2 separate regions of the Homo sapiens genome follow, and region 2 is linked to region 1. The links are contacts of gene promoters, found by promoter capture Hi-C in blood cells and fetal thymus (Javierre and others, 2016). All regions are on one chromosome and are shown on one strand. The core of a region is centred on a gene start or on the middle of the fragment in contact, and the rest is flanking DNA. Distances in the headings are between cores, read along the strand shown. Region 1 holds the start of NAP1L4 (nucleosome assembly protein 1 like 4). Region 2 overlaps KCNQ1 (potassium voltage-gated channel subfamily Q member 1).

The links. The method cuts DNA at HindIII sites, captures the fragments that hold promoters and counts their contacts. A CHiCAGO score of 5 or more calls a contact.
Region 2: a contact is called between a fragment that was not itself captured here and the fragment with the promoter of NAP1L4 in region 1, in 6 of 17 cell types (naive CD4 T cells, monocytes, non-activated CD4 T cells and 3 more). The highest score is 9.1, in naive CD4 T cells.

Annotation. Positions count from the first base shown.
Region 1 is chr11:2,987,858-2,994,261 of GRCh38, reverse strand. It overlaps NAP1L4 (nucleosome assembly protein 1 like 4), which reads left to right and starts at 1,933. Exons shown (of 16, transcript NM_005969.4): 1 at 1,933-2,008. RefSeq lists enhancers at 1,669-1,963, 2,508-3,364. The HindIII fragment of the contact is 4,981 bases long and covers 1-3,574 here.
Region 2 is chr11:2,514,473-2,521,127 of GRCh38, reverse strand. The region is part of intron 1 of KCNQ1 (potassium voltage-gated channel subfamily Q member 1); the gene reads right to left. Among named protein-coding and RNA genes, the nearest start is that of KCNQ1, 73 kb to the right of the region's middle. RefSeq lists enhancers at 416-915, 916-1,417. The HindIII fragment of the contact is 5,693 bases long and covers 1-4,212 here.

The DNA.
Region 1 (6,404 bases), core at 684-3,183:
GGCCAGACAGGACTGAGCACGCTGTGTGGGTCAGGCCTCAGCCATGCACCGGTCACCTCTGAGGGGTTTTTATGTTTTTTGTTTTAATTAGTTTTTTTTTTATTTTTTATTTTTTGAGATGGAGTCTCGCTCTGTCGCCCAGGCTGGAGTGCAGTGGTGCGATCTCGGCTCACACTGTAAGCTCCGCCTCCCGGGTTCACGCCATTCTCCTGCCTCAGCCTCCCGAGTAGCTGGGACTAGGGCGTCCGCCACAATGCACGGCTAATTTTTTTGTATTTTTAGTAGAGACGGGGTTTCACCGTGTTAGCCAGGATGGTCTCGATCTCCTGACATCGTGATCGGCCCACCTCGGCCTCCCAAAGTGCTGGGATTACAGGCTTGAGCCACCGCGCCCGGCCTTTTTTTTGTCTTTTTGAGACAATGTCCCCCTCTGGTTACCCAGGCTGGAGTGCAGTGGCCCAATCTCTGCTCACTGCAGCCTTGACCTCACGGGCTCAGGTAATTCTCCCACCTCAGCCTCCCAAGTAGCTGGTATTACAGGCCTGAGCCACCACGCCTGGGTAATTTTTTGTTGTTGTTGTTTTTGGAGCAGGGGAAGGGTGCTCTATGTTGCCCAGGCTGGACTTGTTGCCTCTGCCTCCCAGAGTGCTGGGTTTACAGGCCTGAGCCACGGCGCTCCGCATTAATTTCTTTTTAGAGATGAGGTTTCACTATGTTGCCCAGGCTGGACTTGAATTTCTGGGCTCAAGGAATCCTCCTGCCTCAGCCTCCCAGCTTACCTCTGAGGTTTATAACCGACGCTATGTTCTTAATCCCTCAACCAGGAGCCTTTAAATGGTTTCAAATTTTCCCCATTACAGGAATAACTTGCTAATAATAATAATAATTAGCAATTGTTTCAAAAGTAACGTCATCCCAAAAGAGAACGTTTCTGAAAAAAATGCACATTAGACTTGAAGACCCCCAATGGCACGGTTGAACATGGAAATGAACCAGCCTCAAAAGTCCCAGCGTAGGGGTTATTTTCCAATCAAATTGGATGCCTTTCTACAAAATGTGATGTGCACAGGCTGGGGCTGGTACCTTCACCCCAGCCCAGAGGGCACCATGAGAGGGAGAACAGGGCGGGCGAAACAGGCCAGCTCCTCCCCAGCCCTCTGCCCTGCTCTGCTTCAGGGGGCTGATCTGAGGGCCCAGTGCGCACTGCTTTTCCTCCTTGTCCGACAGGGTCTCCCGCAGGCCAGAACTAGGCTGCTGGGACACTGCGGGGCTCAGGGCGTGGGGGAAGAGATGCAGGCAGTGGCTAGTCCCGTCCTGTCCGCGGAGGTGACCCAGCCCCGACCTCTTCGCAGAGGAAGTGTTCTCCAACCTGGGACCTGGGGGATGAGCGGGGGTTAGGCTTACGTCCCAACCACTAACGGGGCTGGTTGAAAACGGCTCCCAGGCGGAGGGGCCCTCCGCGATGTTCTCAAGGAGTAGCGCGAGGGGACGACATGGGAGGTGGGGTTCTCACATCAGCGGGCGCACGGAGTGCTGGAGGCACCGACCCGCCGCGGACGGGATTGAACTAGGGAACTGGGAGGGCGCAGGAGATAAAGACGGCTGGGGCCGGGGCCCACGGAGAGGGGTGGTGCCCAGTGTCCCGCGAGGATGTGGTGCCACCCGGGGAAGGTCCCGGGAGCGGGGACCCGGGACCCCCCGGAACCACACACGCGGTCTCCACCTTGCCCCGCCCCATTTAAAGAGGCGGAGGAACGCAGGGCGCGCGCCGCGCGGAGGAATATTTGCATATGGCGCGGCGTTTCTTCGGAGGCTTGTGATTGGTTGCTGACTGCGGCGCGAAGCGCAGTTGACTTGCGCCGCGCTCGGCGAATCGCAGCCTGTCTTGCTCGCGGAGAGAGGAGCTAGGAGCCTCGGCCAATGGGAGCCGGCGTTGTTGGAGGCCACGGCGGCGCAGCCCCAAAGCGAGCGAAGCTAGGGTCGCCGCCACTGCCGCAGGAGGCGTGAGGTGCGGAGACACGGGTGCTGGGCCGGTAACGGCGCGCTGGGGAGGGCGGCCGGGCCCGGACGGGCGGGTGGGGCCGCGGGTCCGGCGCGGGCGCGGCGGCGGCCATCTCTGGAAGCCTCGGGGCGGTGGGGCAGGGGCGGGGCCGCGTTCTGGTCGGGGCAGGCAGCGGCGGCCGCGGCGGGGCCTGGGGCTTGGGGCCTGGAGCCCGGGCCTGGGGCGCTGGCGGGAGGCCCCTCCCAACTCCCGGCGCGCCTCGCCCGGCTGCCCGCCTCACTGAAGGTCAAGGCGCTTTGTTCTGCGCCGCGGGCGGCCTCCTGGGCGGCGGCCCCTTGGAGGAGGCGAAGACGGCGAGAGGCGGCGGCCGCTCAAATCTCCCGCTAGCCCAGCCCGCCCCGCGTGCGGGGGCTGTGGCGGTTACACGGCCGGGCGCGCCGGAGCGTTCAGGCTTCCCGTTTTTAAGGTGGAGACGTCCAGGACTTCTTTATTAGATGTTTAGGAATTTGAGTTTTTCCGTAGGGCGGTTGTCATCGTGAGCCTCTGTGGGGTCAGGCTGGGCTAACTGGGGTTTTGATGTCAGTTTGGTGTGGCCGAGGGCATGTCTGACGGGGAAGAAAGTCCTTGGCGTTGCTTCTTAGCTGTTGGGAGCTGTGCGGTGGGAGCGAGCTGGGCGGCGTGCGCTCCCCGAGGACTGGCCTGAGTGGCCTTAGACTAGTTACTCACGGGACTTGGTTTCCCAGCCAAGGTGGGCAGCAAGTCTGTTTACTATTTAAAACCGTCTTTCACAAGGGAAAAGCAAAATCTCCAAAAAAAAAAATTGTACATGTTATGGATGGGAAAGTGCCATGCTTTTCTTTCAGTTCAGAGATGGTGGAAGAGGTCACATTTGTATTTTTTGACCTGACCAGAGTCTTTGTTGTTTTCAATTTTCCCCTTCTGAATGCTTTCCGTTCACCCCAGCGAAGGATGGCCTGGTCATGATAAGACTTTCCACCGTCCACAGTTCTCTAAGTCTGATTGCGGGGCAGGAGGCAGACATGTTTAGGGTCCAGTAAAGGGGACTCCAGCCTTGGGACCTTTAGACCCTAACGTGTGTGTCACATCACCTGCCTGGGTGACTGTGCGCTCCTCTGGCAGGAAGGTCCGCCATTTCATTATGTTCTCGGAGGAATCGTCGGGGCACATTCGTCTGTGCTTTGGTTCGCATCCCCCAGTCTGCATTACTTTTTCCTGTAGTAACCCGTGCCTTATCCTCCTGCATTAGGTTTACGGGGTGAAAATAGACTTTTAAAAATTCTCTTACCTTAGAAATATACAAATATGTAGATTAGGTTGTTGGACCTTAAAGGTAAGTCTTTCTAAGTTACTACCTTCCTGTAATAGTAACTATACCTCTAAATGACTAATACCTGCACTGCGCACCAGGGACTCTTTCAGCCTGTTTGCGTGTGTTAACTCATTTCATAATCTAATAACCTGAGATAGATGCTATTGTTTTTCCATTTAACTACTCTGGAAGCTGAGGCCCTGGGAGGTTAGGTATAATGACTTGTCCGAGGTGACAAAGCTTAAAGACCCAGGCAGTTTTAACTGTACCCAGGGTTACTGCTTCTGTAGAGGGAATGAAAGAAGTTTTAATGAGAAATTGTTTTCATCATTGTGCTAAGCTTAACTGAACTCTAGCTTACGAGGTTTTGAGCTGGTTGATCATTTCCATCTCAAAATTCTCTTATTCCACAGAATGCCAAATGCCTCCTATAGTAGAATTTTGAGATTCAGACTGGGATGAGCAATTGCTAATGGAATAAATAATATGCAAATGTAAAATGAAGTTCAGAGAAAGCAACGTGGTGATAGAATGGGAAAGTAATCCAAAGATAAAATGAGTGACTACAGAGAGAGAGAAAATTAGTTATTTAGTAGTAGTTCACAAGTTTACTTAGAGATATTTTTACTAGAATTTCAGGGCCTTATGATGTGATTTTTATGAACCATTTTAACACGTTACTGCCGTCTTAAATAGCTGTTATTACATATCCAATTGCAGTCTTTTTTTTTTCCTGGTTGAGCAGTGTTAGCTTCAGAATGTCTGCAGTTATTTGTGCCTATATGTCATATAGGCACATATAACACTTTTGTGAATTTTGTTGTGTAAGCTTTAAATCCGGTACTGTTTTTCAAAATGAATATGGAGTAGTCATTGGAGAAATTGGTTGAATTCTTTGCAGTAGCAAATAAATTTTAATCATTTTTAAGTTTGATAACTTTGGTAAACTGAATTCTGAAAAGTTTACACATGTTTTAGGATGTCCTCAAAATGTACAGGGCATTGTGTTTTGCAAATTAGCCATTTAGCCATCAGATTCTTCTGTAGAATTTTGATCTTTTTGCCCATATGAGAGGTAGTTCTTATTTGTATGGAGGTTAAGTACCTGCGGATGGGATGTGTTCATCACCACTTTACAGTATGAATTTGAATTTGAAACTGAAATGAAAACTTCCTAACCTGTCAGAGTTTTTAGTAGCCTCTTGTTATTGACCGCATGTTAATTCCCTTTGTTAGCTATTCGCAGCTAAGTGTGGGGACTGAAATCTTTATTTTGTTTTCCTTCTTTTGAGCAGTTGATAGTCTCTAGCATCAGGAGGAGGTGACCTCAAATATGTATGTATATATAGTAGTGCTTTTCTTCCTTCCCTTTAGTTGTCTGCAGTTTAAAAATTATTGTGATAAGTTTATGTTGTACTTCCAAAAATGTTGCCAAAGAGCCTATATTTTTCAGTTTGTTTTGGAAGAAAAATACTTTGTGGGCAAGAAGGTGATTTAAATTCCTGACGGCCTAAGAGGCGTCAGCTGTGTGAAATAGGCGAGTGCTGTTACTGCTTGAAACCATGATGGTTTATATTTGAATAAGACAGCAGAGATGAGCTTGTTGGGAGTTTGGCCTGAGATTGCTAGCTAAGGAATGCTTGCTTTTTTGCTTAAAGGGAAAAGTGTTTTAGGCTTCCAGAGTAGAAATCTGATATTACTTCGTTTGATTCTTCGACCACTATGGTGATAGGAAGTAGCTGATCTCTGCAGGAAACTGCTGTTACCTGGCCTCAGCTGAATTTTTGTGGGACCTCCTGAGGTAAGCAAATTTATGCCTCCCGAAACTATAGTTGTAAGGTTTGTCTTTGAGCATATAGTAATGGAAAACCCTTATCAGTAGGTAGATAGTAAATAATTTTGTATTTGGCTGCTAATGAAATTTTTAAGAAATAGTTTGTGGTGATATAAATTAGTTTTCATCTGGCAGTCATTGGTTTTCCACCCTGCCCTCTTAAGAGAGAACAGGGTTGCTTTACTTTGTTTGCCAGAGCTTTACATTTTGCATTTAGTAACAGAGGCATTGTGTTTTTATAGTATGAAAACAACGAAAGATCACTTTGTGATCTTTACTTTTTGATTTTGACCACTTCCTGTGTAACCTTAAGTTTCTTACAAGTATCCCCTGTTAACTGTTAAAAACGAAATGTATGTTCATTTCATGTCCTTGGGACTTTTAAAAATGCGCTGTGCATTATCTGGAAAAGCCTGTTCAAAAACAAGATGAGATAATTTCTGTTTAATTTGTGGTAGAAAGAATGACTGTGCACTTTTATGTGCAAAGGTTTTAAGTATAATAATTAAAATAGTACTTGTTTACTCAGTTACCGAAAAGTAGCTTTCAGTGATTTGCATCTGTTTACTTATTCATGAGCATCTTCTATGTACTGGGCACAGTTCTAGGTACTGGGGCCTCCCGCAGAATAAAACAGAAGTCTTTGTCCTTGTTTCTGCTATGGGAGACAGACGAACAAGTTCAATGGTGGCAGGTGCTTTTGAAAAACAGTGCAGAGGAGTAGGGACTTTGGTGGTTGCAATATGAAATAGGTAGAGAGGGAAGTGCCTTATTGACAAGATGACAAGATCTTTTAATATGTACTGGATTAAGAAGTTAGCCTCATTGAGTCGTATGCTAATGAACTGCCCAGAAAAGAAGGGTGGAGGAGATGGGAGTGCAGCAGTAAAGACTGCTGCGCCCCAAGTAAAATGTAGTGTTTTGGTTAAGGAAAGGAAATCATTTTTTGCTTTCTTCTTGAAACCCCAGGGCTTGGCACCGCAGAAGTCTCTGAAGAGACAGTCTGCTGCTGTTTGGAGGCAGGTATTTCAGTAGATCTTGTAACCAAACATGAATGACTAAGGCAGTGTTTCTCCTCTGTGTCTTCAGAAACTGCTTGAGATGTGTGCATGCAGTCCCGGGCACCATGCGTGCTGGGTACTGGTAACACAGAGACAAGTTGTCATTTGGTAGCAGTGAGTTAAGCAAAGATTTCTTGGCAACCAGTCTCATCCCGAGTCTGTTGCTGGGCCTTGGGA
Region 2 (6,655 bases), core at 117-2,616, 470 kb after region 1:
TTGCCACTGGGCCGTGACCTGACACAGAGTTAAGACGGTAAATTGTGTGTTATGTGTATTTTATCACAATAAAAAAAAAACTTTTTTTAAAGCAAACAACATTCATAGAGCAAGCATCAGAGGGTTCAAAATGTTCCCCGTGGCTGGTGAATGAGATCGAGCAATGTTCAAAGACCCCTACTGGGGACGGGACCTCGCCAGGCTGATAAGCAGACAATGGGTTTGTGAAGCGAACCTAAAGCCGAAGGCAGGATAGGGCCTTGAATGTGTAACTTCAAGAGATTAAATATTGACGCTTAAACCCCAAACCACTTCTAGGGGCTTAAAAAAAAAAGTCATCCTGGGAGACTCCAAATGCCTCCAAATCCCATGTGCCCCAGGAAGGAAACACTGGGCGCTGGAGAGGACAGGCTTCCCCTGCTCACTCACTGGTCACCAGCAGGTCTCCCTCCATCCCTGATGTGGCTGCCGGCTCCAGGGCTGCTGAGCTCAGAGCCCTGGGATGTGGACGCCCAGGGGCAGAGGTCTCACAGCCTGCCAGGGCTGTTCCCCAGGGCTGAATCTGCACCTCAGAAAAAGCTACCAGCTGGTCACCCCCCTCACCAGTGGCTGTCACCCCCCTCACCAGTGGCTGTCAGCAGGCAGCCTCAGCAGGGTTTGGAGGTCGCCAAGGTCCCCACAGGTTCACCTGCTTCCTGGCTCTGCATGGATGGAGCCTGGGCCAGGCATCTCCCGACCCCTCCCAAAGGGGTGAGCCCTGGCCCACACCGAGGGCCCCACGCTGGGCTGGACACTAGGCACAGGTTCCCCGCTCTGAACCCCATGTGGAAGGTGTCACATCATGGAAGTCCTGGTGAGGAGACAGAAGCCCTGGTGAGGCACGTCTGGTCCCAGGCTGCCCCCCAGAAGCCCCCTGGATTGGGGTTCAGGAGGCACTACCAATCGATGGGGACACTGAGGCTCAGACACAGCATGGGACGTGCCCAGACTGGCCGACTCCAGGGGCCCCAGCGCCACCACTTGGTGCCATGGTCCTGAGGCAGGAATGCCACATCAGGCCATACGTCATCCTGGGGGGTGGGGGCGACAGGGCCCTTTTCAGCCTTCCAGCCTCTGCGGGCTCCCGCGTCCTGGGTGGGTGGCGGCATCACTCCCGTGCTGTGCAGCATGTGGCCGGATCCTCCTTTGTTGAATCTGTCCTGTCTTTTAGGAGGACACGTGTCACTGGACTTGGGCCCCCTGGATAATGCAATCACGCCTCTCGGGACCCTCAGCCTCAGCTGCAAAGGGGTGTTTTCTATGTCAGGTCACATTTGCAGCTTCCAGGGATGGAAACCAATGTTGTGGGGGGGGGCCAACACCTGCTGTACTATGTAAGTATTTAATACATTACTTATGATCACTATTGGTAGATTTTGAATTCTTAAACAACAGAATTAGGTATTGGTCAAAAACATATATTAGTTGTTGTTGTTTTTTGGTTTTTTGTTTTGTTTTGTTTTGTTTTTGAGACAGAGTCTTGTTCTGTCACCCAGGCTGGAGGACAGTGGTATGATCCTGGCTCACTGCAGCCTCGATTTCCTGGGCTCAAGCGATCCTCCCAACTCAGTCTCCCAAAGTGCTGGGATTACAGGCGTAAGCCACCATGCCCGGCCTCATGTCTTAATTTTTAAAACATAATTAAAAATGTACTCAAAGCTCAGAGTTTCCTTTTCATCCTCTCACCTCCAGATCCTTAATGGAATTGCATCTGAAAAAATTCTTTTAAAAAGAGGGTCACGTCCACGCCCACTGGTGTCAGCACAGGGACGCCTCTCTCACCATTCAGCCCACAGGGCATCACCCGAACCCTGTCATGTTGGAGAGAAGGGAGCTGGGGGTGGTGATTCCCGGCACAGGCGGGACATGGCTGGCCCATCTGCAGCAGGCAGCTGCCACGTCGGGAGTAGGTCCATGAGGCTCCCTAGCACCCCAGCCCTTCAGGGACCGCCACTTCTCACCAGAACGGCAACAGCTGCCCCCCAACCATTGCCCCTCAGGCCCCCACACAGCACCCTGTCTGCCATTGTCCACACTGCCCAGCTGGTTGGCAGGGCCTTGGAAGCCCCTCCCCTGGCAGCCACAACAGGGCACAAACCACAGAAGGAGCGTGGATGTGATCCCACACCCGCTTCACAGACCCACAGCCTGGTCCTCCCCGTCCAGCTCCGGGTGAATGGACGCCTCCCCACCAGACTGGGCCTCCTTGGCCCAGGGCTCCCGTGGCCACCCCATGCCTCACGCTGTCTTATACTCTTTACCTGTGGCTTGTTCCGCGGCAGCTGAGTCTCATTTCTTTAAAAAGTTCTTGAAAGCCATGGGATCCCAGCCCAAGGGACACAACAATGGGTGACTTGGTGTGGCCGGTGGGTAAGATTTCTGCCCTCATTGTCTCCCGAAGCCCCAAGTGTGCTGTCCCCGTTAGACAGAGCCGCCAGCCCGCCTATCCAGGAGCCATCTGGAGATTAAACCTGTGTCCCACAGCAGGACCAAGGCTGTCCCCAGCCTCTTGGGGTTTCAGCTGACACTTTTTCCAACACAGATCTGGACTGGGAACCCCAAGAAACAGGTCCCTTCCTGCCAGCTTTCGGCTGGGTCCACACAGAACTCCTGTGCCTGCAGCACCTCCCCAGAGGCTGGTCCCCCTGCCGGGGCCACCAGGCCTGCACCCCAACTGCAGCCCACTCCCCTGGTCCCCCCGCCTCTGTCTCTCCTGTCCCAAGGCAGCGTCTACCCTCCCATGTTACAAGACCCCCCACATGAAGCCTGGACCCCAAACCCTCCTTCTGCGGAGGCCCTGGCCTGGGCTTCCCTGCCAGGCTCTCAGGAGGCCTCCGGCTCTGGCTTGCACCAGTTCATGGACCGCCAGGCAGCCACTGCCACCACTGCCTCCCCGACCAGAGCAGGGGCTCCCCAGGCAGGGGCCCACCAGCTGCATTCCCTCCCTCCGAAGGCCCAGTGCCAGGCGTGGGATGCACGTTTGTGAAGTGTTTGCTGAATGACTGATGGTGTGAATGAATGTTAGGGTAAACCCTCAAGCTCGGTGAATGAAGTCTCAGTGCCGCCTCCTCCATGCAGGCCTCCGGGTGAATCTGGAAGTGAGTTAGGCTCCTTAGACTCTGTTCTTTTCCTTCCTATCCCACCGCACACCACAGGCTCAGCCTAGCTCGCAAGTGGCCTTTGAGCAGGACGTGGTACTGAGGCAGCGTTCCGCCACCCCTCACCCCCAGGCTGCATGCCAACAGCACAGGTTGACAGATCGCTGGGAGCCTCCTGGGGTGGGCTCTGACGTGAGCTGCGGGCGCAGGCATGGCCCCCCCAGCAGGCAGGTGTGAGCGGGCAGGACGTGCAGGCATATGCTCCCAGGGCCATGGTCCCACTGGCCAAACCGGTCCCTCTTCCCTGAAGAAGCGTCTTAGGGGCTGCCCCAGAAGACCAAGTCAGGACAGGTGCAGGAGGTGGGGATCCTGCCAGGGGGAAACCCTGCCATCCCACCTGGTTGCCACGCCACATGCCTGGATGTCCTGGGACAAGGTCCTGCCTTTACTTCCATTCTGCCTGAGTCCTGCCAGACAGAGAGGTGAGGCGCCACAGGCCAGACAGTGACGCAGCGGGGACTCAACACGCGTGGGGCCCTGGGGAACGCGCCCCAAATCCAACCCGTCCCAGGGCTTCTCAGCCCTGAGCCCCCTTCGGTGCAGACAGAATGCCATGTCTCCCACCAGAGCCCTCCAGGGTGTCCCAGGAGCTTCCCACCTGGAGGTCCATCAGGTGCATCTCACCCCATCCCCATCGCCAGGAACCTGGATGCCCCCGCACCAAGAGGTGACAGGTGTGCATTCCCTCTTCAACGGCCCTGCAGGGTGGGGACTGATGGGTCCAGCTGCGCACGGGGCTCCTGGACGCTCAGGCCTTGCAGTGGGGATGAGGGCTGGCCCCGCCTGGCACCTACCAAGGGCTCATTCCCATCTCACCCGGACGCCCAGGGCCCTCGACCACACCTCAGTGCGGAGCGTGGAGCCTGGGCCCTGATCCCTCCTTTCCAGGAGCAGCCTGGGGGGTGAACACAGCCGTGCTTGAGGGCCCTGCCATGCCATCCCGAGTGTCACGTCAAAGCCCTTCAGAGGCCCTAGAGGGACAGGTGCTGGGGGACCCTCGGGCAGCCAGGAAGCTTCCCGGTGACACCAGGCAAACTCTGGGGGGTCGTGGCAAGGTGGGGGAGAGATCAGGAGGGGCCAGAACAATGTCCCTCCCCACCAGAAGAGCCCAGTGCAGCCCTGGCACACCTCTGGGCCAGAGAGGAAATGTCCTAGGCGTGGTGGGGCAGGTGGCCTCTGTGGCAATATTCGGCCGGGCATGGCTGTGTCCTAATAAAACTTTATCGACAAAATCAGGTGGTGGCCGTAGCATGAGGATCCCGGCAAAGAGTCCTGCTGAGAACCCAGGGCTCTGGCAGGATGGCATGTGGGTGTCTGCACCTGTGTGTTGGTTTCAGGGGACCCGCTACACAATCAGGAGCACCCAACAGTGGCATGTAAACATCAAGCAAGGGCAACCGAATTGGGAAGGTCCAGCTCCCTGTCCATCTCAAAGGCTTTCTGGGGGCCAATTTTGAGCCCGGAGATTGAGAATTCAAACAGGAACGTGTGCCCCCAGAGCTGGCCGCCACATCCCCTTTAAAAACAGGCTCTATGGTGGCCCCCAAGAATCCCGGTGGGTCAGCGGTCCCAGGCATGAGGGGACGCTGGGACTGAGCCATTTAAAGCCCACCTCCTCCTGTCGCCTCTAAACTTCATGAGAAGCCTGAGAAGTGGACCCATCCTTTGTTCACAGGAGAGGAGGAAGCTCAGAGAGGTTAAGGGACCTGCCTCAAGTCACACAGCATCGAGCGGTTGGCGAGAACTGGACTCCGGGTCTCCCTGACAGCATCACAGGTCCCCACAGCACCTCGAAGCACCCCGAAAACTACAACCCAGAAGTAAGCCTGGAGTGGTGGGCATCCAGGCAGCCTGGCCTTCCACAGGGAGATTCCAGCAGGAGCCCTGGCCTGGGCGTGGGCGGATAGGCCCAGGGGCTCAGTGAGGAGAGCTGTGGGATGCCCGGCCCCTGGGGTCTGGGCTGTCACTGCAGCCATGGCACACATAGAGGTGGTCAGGGCCTCAGCAGAGGACAGGGGTGGCCAGGCTCTGGGGTGCAAGCAGGAAAGGCATGAGCTTCTCCTGGGGCCCGGAGGGTGCAGGTGGCCCGGCAGAGCACAAGCCCCCCAGGGCCGAGGGCTGCTGGGAACGGGGCTCTGTGCTCCCAGGGCCGGCCACACCAAGCCTGGCTCCCTGGGCTGTGATAAGACACCCACAGAGAGTATATTTAGAAGGCGCCGGGAGGACAAACTGAAGTGACCCCATGGATGTGGCCCTATCTGCCCTAGGACACTCGTCTTGTCTCTGTGAGAGGCCTGCCTAGGGTGAGGAGGGGCTGGGCAGACCAGATGCACCTGTGCACCCCCCACCCCAGAAATGGCGAGGCTCTGCCTGGGCGAGGCCTGGTCCCAGCAGCCTTGTCCCCTCACCCCCACTGATGGCGGCTGCGCTGTCCTGGAGCAGAGGGTGGTGGTCTTGCTGGGCAGCAGGGGCCTCGGGGACGGGTGGGAGGGGTGGACAGGCCTCCCCGCCCCTGGGCCAGGGGCTCCGCCCTCCCTCACACAGGGCAGGCGTTAAAGCCTCCAAGAAGTGAATGAAATCATGTCCTTTGCAGCAACACGGATGGATCTGGAGACCATGATCCTAAGTGAACTACCGGAAACAGAAAACCAAACACGGCACGTTCTCACTCATGAGTGGAAGCTAGACAGATGGGATGCTTGGACAGAAAGACGGAGAAAGGTCACTCTGGGACTCCAAAGGGGAGGTGGAGAGGGTGAGAGGGGGAGGGTTGAAAAATTACCTATTGAGTATAACGTCCAATATCCGGCTGATGGGCGCACGAGAAGCCCAAACCCCACCATTACGCACGTAACAGACAAGTATGTGTACTCCTCAAATCTAAAATAAAATAACATAAAAAAACAAGAAAGACTTGAGGAAGCAGGCAGAGCTCCCAGAGCACCTCCACTCGGGAAGGGGGCGAGGTGCGGAAGGACAGCGAAGGCCTCAGGTGCCCTGGAGCTGCCAGGTCAACACGACCCACTGGCGGCTCAGGGTGTGGGTCCTCAGGGTTCATCCCTACTTGGGAAAGTCCCTCCTCACATCTAGCCCAAGTCTCTTTTCGAGACGGAGTCTGGCTCTGTCGCCCAGGCTGGAGTGCAGTGGCGCAATCTCGGCTCACTGCAAGCTCTGCCTCCCGGGTTCATGCCATTCTCCTGCCTCAGCCTCCCGAGTAGCTGGGACTACAGGCGCCCGCCACCACGCCGGGCTAATTTTTTGTATTTTTAGTAGAGATGGGGTTTCACAGTGTTAGCCAGGATGGCCTTGATCTCCTGACCTCGTGATCCCCTTGGCCTCCCAAAGTGCTGGGATTACAGGCGTGAGCCACCGCGCCCATGAGCCACCTCGCCCGGCCAAGTCTTTCTTGCTGTAGCTTGGTCTCCTGTATAGGGAAACCTCCTACCCACTACAGAGAA